Regions from separate parts of the Homo sapiens genome. Here region 1 is linked to region 2. The links are contacts of gene promoters, found by promoter capture Hi-C in human tissues and cell types (Jung and others, 2019). All regions are on one chromosome and are shown on one strand. Each heading gives the region's core, a stretch centred on a gene start or on the middle of the fragment in contact. The rest is flanking DNA. Distances are from core to core; before and after follow the strand shown.

Region 1 (3,566 bases), core at 167-2,666, 330 kb after region 2:
ACTTTGTTTGGATTAATTGTATTTTTTATTATTCCATTTTATTTCCTTTGTCTTATGAGGGGTAACTTTTTGTTTTGTTATTGTAGCAGTTGCTTTAGGATTTACAGTTATCACAGTCTCACTTCACTTTGAGTGCTGTTACCCCACTTCTGTATAGCGTAAGAACAGCAGACTTCCCTGTTTCCCATCTTGGCCTTTGTGCCGTCACATATTTTAATTCTTATGTATACTATCAACTCCTAAATACGTTATGATTGTTTTTGCTTTGAATAGTTGATCAGCTTTTAAAGATATTTAAATAGTAAGAAAAGTCTTTATATCTCCTAGGTCCTTACCATCTTCAGTGCTCTTCATCTGGGTTCCCAACTGATATTTTCCTTCTGCACAGCAGAAGGTCTGCTTCTGCTAGTGATGAATTCTTTTGCATTTGTATGTCCATAAAGCTTTTATTTTGCCTTTATTTTTGAGATATTTTCACTGGGAAAAGAATTCTAGATTAATAGTTTTTTTTACCTCTGTGTATTTATTTTTGAGATAGGGTCTTGCTCTGTCACTTAGGCTGGAGTGCAATGGCGTGATCATGGCCCACTGCAGCCTCCAAGTCCTGGGCTCAAAGGATCCTTTTACTTCAGCCTCCTGAGGAGCTGGGACTACAGGTGTGCACCACCACACCCCGCTAACTTTTAAAATAAAAAAAAAATTGTAGAGAGATGGGGTGTCACCATGTTGCCCAGGCTGGTCTTGAACTCCTGGCCTCAAGTGATTCTCCTTCCTCGGCCTCCCAGACTGCTGGGATTACAGGTATGAGCCACTGTGCCCTGGCCCTTTTAGTTTTTTAGAGGTGATATTCCTAGATCTCTTCTCACTTGCCCTGTTTCCTGTGAGAAATCTGCTCTTAACTTTGCTTTTGTCTTTGTTTTTCTGTACATAATGTGTCTCTTCTCTCTGAGTCGTTTTGCAATGTTTTCTTTGTCACTGGTTTTAAGCAGTTTGATTATGATGTACATAGATACAGTTTTCTTCAGATTTCTTATGTTTGGAATTGGTTGAGCTTCTTGGATTTATATTTTTCGTGAAATCTGGAAAATTGTGGTCAATTATTTCTTCAGATACTTTCTGTTACTCTCCTCCTTTAGGTACTCCACTTGCATGTGTATGTGGCCACTTAAAACTTTTCCACTACTGGTGCTCTGTTCATTTTTCTTTCAGTGATTTTTTTTTCCTTCTATATTGCATTTTGGATAATTTCTATTGCTTTATCTTCAAGTTTACCAATATTTCTTCTACAGTGTCTAATTTTCTGTTAACTCCTTCCTGTGTATTTTTCATCTCATTCATTTGCTTCAGTTTGGATCTTTTTAATATCATCCCTGTTTCTACTTAACGTGTTTAGTCTTTCTTCTAGCTTTTTGAACATAACGAATATATAATACATATTTTAACACATTTTTTCCTACTAATTCTGACATCTGTCATTCCTTGGTGAATTGCTTTTGATTCTTCTGTACTTTGTATTATGTATTTTGTTTCTATTTTGCATGCCTGGTAATTTACTATAGGATATTGCCAAACATTGTTAATTTTACCTTCTGATGCATTGGATATTTTTTACCTTCCTAATATCCGCGAGCTTTATTCTGGGATTACTTAGAAACACTTTGATCCATTTAGGTCTTCTTTTTAAGCCTTACTAGGCAGGACCAGTATAGAGTTTCGTCTGGGGATAGTTTTGCCCACTACCTATGCGAGACCTGTCTTAGCTCTGTAACCGATAACCCGTGAATTATGAGGTTTTCCCCTTGGCTGTTGAGAACTGGCACTATTCCTGGTCCTGTGTGAGCTCCAACTTTATTCCCTCTAATCCTTTTGTGTGGTTTGTTCCCTGACCTCAGGTAGATTTTTCAACACACATGATCAGTGTTCAGTTGAATGCTGAAGGGGTTCTTCTGCAGATCTCCAGAGTTCTTCGCGCAGCTCTCTTCTCTCCTTTACTCTGCCCTGAGAATTCTAGCTATCCTGACTTGTCCAGACTCCCGGCTCTGTCTCCTCAAATCAAGGAGACTTTTGGGCTCTCCCATGTTCTCCTTAGGTCTCACCCCTCTGGGGGGTCTGTGTCCTTGGTCACCTGGTGTCCTCTGTTTTGAGTGGTGTGATTTTATATATTTGTCTTTTTATTATTATTATTATTATTATTAGTTTTTCATATGGAAGGGTAAAACTGGTTTATTATTCCATCCTGTCCAGATGTGGAAGTTTCTCTTTTTCATTTGAATCGTTTGGCTACTCCTTCTGGACCTTCCTTCCTGCAATTTTCTATTACATCTCATTCCCCTCTTCGCCTTCATTATATTCTTACATCTCTCTCATCACTTACTCTCTGTGTCTTTTTTGGTCTTCTTTTCTGATGCAGCTTAATGTTTGTGACAGGAACTCTTTGAAAGGGTGGCTGGTGTTTTCCTTCTCAGAGAAGAATTTGACTGGGAGATGGATACAATCCTAAAGATGCATTTTTAGATCTGTTTTACAAAACCAGAATTTTTATGAATTTTATTTTCTAGAACACATCAGTGAATTGTGCTTTCATGTATCTCTTAAGATATCTAAAACACACTTATTTTAAAGTCTCAGATTGTTTCATAAAAATAATCTCAACTGAGGTAAGTTAATGTTTGATTATTTGTTCTGCTGGCTGTATTACTTAGCATTAGATTTGTCCATATGTTTTAGAATTTTGGGTTGCAGGGTCATATTCAGAGGAAGGTTTTTTTGTTCTTTACCGTTTCTCTGTTTTCTTCGTTCCTGTCCTTCTCCCCCATCCCCCGTCTCTTACTATTCACCCTATAAGTGGATTTGCAGGTGATTCCACCCAATTCTCTAGGCTTGAAATCCAGAGTGAGATTTCCCAGGGATCCATCAGATGTCTAGCACCCATACAATGAGGGGATGGAGCTGATCCTAGGCCTATGGCTTGGATCCCTAATCTTAAAGCTCCTTAGATCTACAGCCCCATGCTGCATTTGGGTGACAGTATTTGACTTCCTTCTGGCACCGTCATGGAGCTTATCCCATCCCAGCCTCTGACTTGAAGCTTTTTGCCTCCCTCCTGCCCCAAGCCCACAGTGTGCCATCCTGCAGGAGGCAGGCTCCTGGTTCTTCTTGGTTGTGGACCCCAAGCCCAGCAGGCTCACTTTATCCTCTCTTCCTGTTTTGCTTCTGGCCTGTGGAGGTTTACATTTTGTATTAGTCCATTTTCACATTGCTGATAAAGACATACCCGAGACTGGAAAGAAAAACAGGTTTAATGGAGTTACAGTTCCACCTGGCTGGGGAGGCCTTACAATCGTGGCAGAAGGCGAAAGACACGTCTCACAAGGCAGCAGGCAAGAAAAGAGAGCTTGTGCAGGGAAACTCCCATTTTTAAAACCATCAACTCTTGTGAGACTTATTCACTGCAACAAGAACAGCATGAGAAAGACCTACCCCCATGATTCAATTACTTCCCACTGTGCCCCTCCCACAACACATGGGAATTCAAGATGAGATTTGGGTGGGGACACAGCCAAACC
Region 2 (3,732 bases), core at 1,049-3,548:
GGGTGGGACCTCTAGCATTTCCACCGCACAGAGGAGGGTGGGCCGGGGCTGGGACCAGTGCACCTGCATGACCCTGAGAGTGATGCCTCCTTAAATTCTATGCCCCAGCACCTCCCTCACCTCCTTCTCTGTCCTGGAGTGAGCATGTGCCCCCGTGAGGGTTGTAGCCCAAAGGGTCGCCACCACCTCAAAATCTCTTTGAAGTCTTATTTTATCTTTAAAATAGCTTGTGAATTTTGTATTTAACTCCATAATGTAGCAATGTGTATTTAAATGTAAAAGCAATGTCCTTCCCGAAATCAGAGTTGCTGCAGGAAGACAGGCCGTGTGCGCCTGGGGCCTCTTGGAGATGCCATGCCCAAGTCAAGACACAGTCATGGAATTCCACACTGGGCATAAAATGACCAGCAAGAGTCCAGCAAGGGGACCGGCAGGGCCCCCTTTACAGGACATCACTCCCAGCCCAGGCTTAGTAGTGATGGGGGAAATGTTTCCTCTAAGCTGCCTGGCTTCAAATCCCATGAAAGCCACCCTGTGGGGCCTTGGCGATGAGAAATCTTTCTGCAGTGTTGTGTCCTATATGTAGGCAGGAATGATGTGATTCCTATTTCATGGACAGGACATCCTGTAGGTGCTCAGTCAATCAATGTAAGCTCTTAACACGCTCCTCACCCACCATCTCTTTTGCCTGCCCTCTGCCAACATGGCTAAAACCCTGGCCCCTTTCAGTTCTGCCAAACCATGACATGTTTTAGTTATGAAGCCCCAATTAATTACGTTTCTTAATTAGTGGTTCTGTTTCTAGAATCCCCAACTTTCTATATAAGTAACTGAATACACATCCACATAGGTTTAAATACGGTCCCCAGAGCCCAGCATCAGCATCCCCTTGTTAGAAATACTTCCAGGCCCCAGCCCAAGCCCACTGAGTCACAAACGCTAGGGAGCTGGGAGCAGTGGGGGGCGCCTGTAATCCCAGCTACCTTAGAGGCTGAGGCGGGAGGACTGCTTGAGGCCGGGAATTTGAGACCAACCTGGGCAGCATAGCAAGACCCCTATCTCGAAAAAGTTAGAAAGAAGGAAACTCTGGGAGTGGGGCCCTGTGATGTGACAACGGGCCCCCGAGTGATGTCCGTGCATGCTGAAGTAGAATCACTGACTTAGATGGCCCTCAGGGTGGCCTTAAAACCAAAACAAGAAAAACACCACTTTTAGACGTTCCCCCAATCCCTAGGTACCACGACGCGCTTCCCCACCCCTCCCCGGCCTCAGGTTCGGGCCTTGGCCCCTGGCAAGGCCGGAGCAGCAGGGCGGTGACAGCGCAGTCCGGCGCGGGCCACGCCCCCACTCCCGGTGGGCGGGGAGGGTGCTTGGGGCGCTGGCGTCCGGTTGCGGTGGGAGGTGGTGCGTGCCGCGTGGGCGCCGGCCCCACGGGGCCCCCTCTCCGCCCTCCCTGCGGGATCCCGGGGCGCGGACTCGCGGGCGCGTCGGGCGGGACAGGGGGAGGGGCGGGACGTGCTCCCGGGCCTGGCGCGAATGGCCTCCGGCCGCTCTCGGCTGCGGGCCATGGCCGCTCCCCGGCGCGTCCCCACACGGTCCCCGCCCCAGTCTGGCCGCAGCCCACCCCGCGCCGCCACTGGGCAGATGGGGGCGGCGGCTCCTGCCTCCCGGCTTTCGGAAGAGCAGAGCGGAGCGCGCCTGACCGAGTCAGGCTTCCGAGTGGGATTGGAACCCGGGGCGCCCTGAAGTTTGGGGAAAGCAGGAGCAGAAGGGAAGGGATGCGCTCCCCGCTCTCCGGCGGCGCGGAATGGGCCTCCTTCCAGCCTCTGCGTAGGCAAGATTTCCCCAGTTGCGCGCTGCACCGGGGACTCCCCAGCCCGTGAGGCAGCCAAGAGGAGAGCGCTCAGTGACCCTCTGGGGGCAGAGCCGTCAGGCCAAGTTCATGGGCAGGAAGACTTTGTGCACGTGGGGGTCTCTGAAGGTTGAGCGCGAGCTCTGCACCCCCACTTCGAGGCACTCAAGAAGCGGAACAGACGCGAGCCCCGCCGGGGGTGCGGGTGAGGGCTGCAGGGAGCCCGCGAACGACAGAAAGTCGCCCCCCGCATTCCACCGGAGCACTCGGGAACACGGCTTCCAGGTGTCCCAGCGGCCGCGCCTCCCCGCCCCCGGCCCTCCCCCGTCGCGGGCAGGTTCAACCGGGAGGCGGCGTGGCCCCGGAGCCGGCCCCAGGCCCGCATCCTCCTCCCACTTCGCCCTGGGCAGCCGCAGCTAAAAGCCGGAGGCTCCAAAGTGGAACTACGTTGTCTTGTCGAGCCTGGGGCGACTCGCCTCGGGGAGGGCGAGCCTGAACTGCAGCCCTGCGCTCCTTCCACGGCCCGAGGAGTTAGTTAAGTCTCCAGAGGGGCCCGGTTCGGCCCGAGCAAGTCCAGGGGCGAACGGCGTCATGGAGCCCATAGGGGCGCGGCTAAGTTTGGAGGCGCCGGGACCAGCGCCCTTCCGAGAGGCCCCGCCGGCCGAGGAGCTGCCCGCCCCGGTGGTCCCCTGTGTGCAGGGTGGCGGCGACGGCGGTGGCGCTTCGGAGACCCCGAGTCCTGACGCTCAGCTAGGGGATAGGCCCCTGTCCCCGAAGGAAGAGGCCGCCCCCCAGGAGCAGGAGGAGCTGCTGGAATGCCGCCGCCGCTGCCGCGCGCGCTCCTTTTCCTTGCCCGCCGACCCCATCTTGCAGGCGGCCAAGTTCCTGCAGCAGCAGCAGCAACAGGCGGTGGCACTGGGCGGCGAGGGGGCGGAGGACGCACAGCTCGGCCCGGGCGGCTGCTGCGCCAAGTGCAAGAAGCGGGTGCAGTTCGCGGACACGCTGGGGCTAAGCCTGGCCAGCGTGAAGCACTTCAGCGAGGCGGAGGAGCCGCAGGTGCCGCCCGCCGTGCTCTCGCGCCTCCGAAGCTTCCCTATGCGTGCCGAGGACCTGGAGCAGCTCGGGGGGCTGCTGGCCGCGGCGGCAGTGGCCGCGCCCCTTTCAGCGCCGCCTTCCCGGCTCCGGCCGCTCTTCCAGCTCCCGGGGCCGAGCGCCGCGGCCGAGCGTCTGCAGCGGCAGCGCGTGTGCCTGGAGCGCGTGCAGTGCTCGACGGCCTCGGGCGCTGAGGTGAAGGGCTCCGGCCGGGTGCTCAGCTGCCCTGGGCCCAGGGCCGTGACCGTGCGCTACACCTTTACCGAGTGGCGCTCCTTCCTGGACGTGCCGGCTGAGCTGCAGCCCGAGCCGCTGGAGCCACAGCAGCCAGAGGCACCGTCTGGGGCCTCCGAGCCAGGGTCCGGGGATGCCAAGAAAGAGCCAGGCGCCGAGTGCTTCCACTTCTCGCTGTGCCTGCCCCCGGGCCTGCAGCCTGAGGACGAAGAGGACGCCGACGAGCGCGGCGTCGCGGTCCACTTCGCTGTCTGCTACCGCTGCGCGCAGGGCGAGTACTGGGACAACAACGCGGGCGCCAACTACACGCTGCGCTACGCGCGCCCTGCGGACGCGCTCTGAGCCTGGAGAGTTTCGAAGAGCCGTGGGGCGGGGTTGATTAGCACGTGGAGCTCGGGCTGCCGCCTCAAGGAACTTGCTGGGACGCTTTGCTGAGCGTGGCGAGTCTGGCGTGAGGGGCGCGTGGAGGGAAAGGAGGGAGACTTTGAACCGTCGACTCGCACCCCCGCAGACAAGTGAGCGAGCTTAGAGAGCCCGGGCAATGCTCCGAAAGC

The links. Contacts are between HindIII fragments. The study calls those that stand out against the background at their distance.
Region 1: a fragment that was not itself captured here is called in contact with the fragment with the promoter of PPP1R3G in region 2 in 1 of the 25 tissues and cell types used here (lymphoblastoid cells).

What each region holds. Positions count from the first base shown.
Region 1 is chr6:5,416,704-5,420,269 of GRCh38, forward strand. All of the region lies in intron 3 of FARS2 (phenylalanyl-tRNA synthetase 2, mitochondrial), which reads left to right. Among named protein-coding and RNA genes, the nearest start is that of FARS2-AS1, 40 kb to the right of the region's middle. The HindIII fragment of the contact is 4,384 bases long and covers 1-3,566 here.
Region 2 is chr6:5,083,043-5,086,774 of GRCh38, forward strand. PPP1R3G (protein phosphatase 1 regulatory subunit 3G) reads left to right here and starts at 2,299. Exons shown (of 1, transcript NM_001145115.3): 1 at 2,299-3,732. The coding sequence starts at 2,444. The coding sequence ends at 3,520. All of the region lies in intron 3 of LYRM4-AS1 (LYRM4 antisense RNA 1), which reads left to right. It also overlaps a transcript of LYRM4 not described here. RefSeq lists silencers at 1,281-1,350, 1,381-1,660, 2,071-2,250, 2,501-2,600, 2,741-2,790 and 1 more and an enhancer at 2,581-3,270. The HindIII fragment of the contact is 9,723 bases long and covers 1-3,732 here.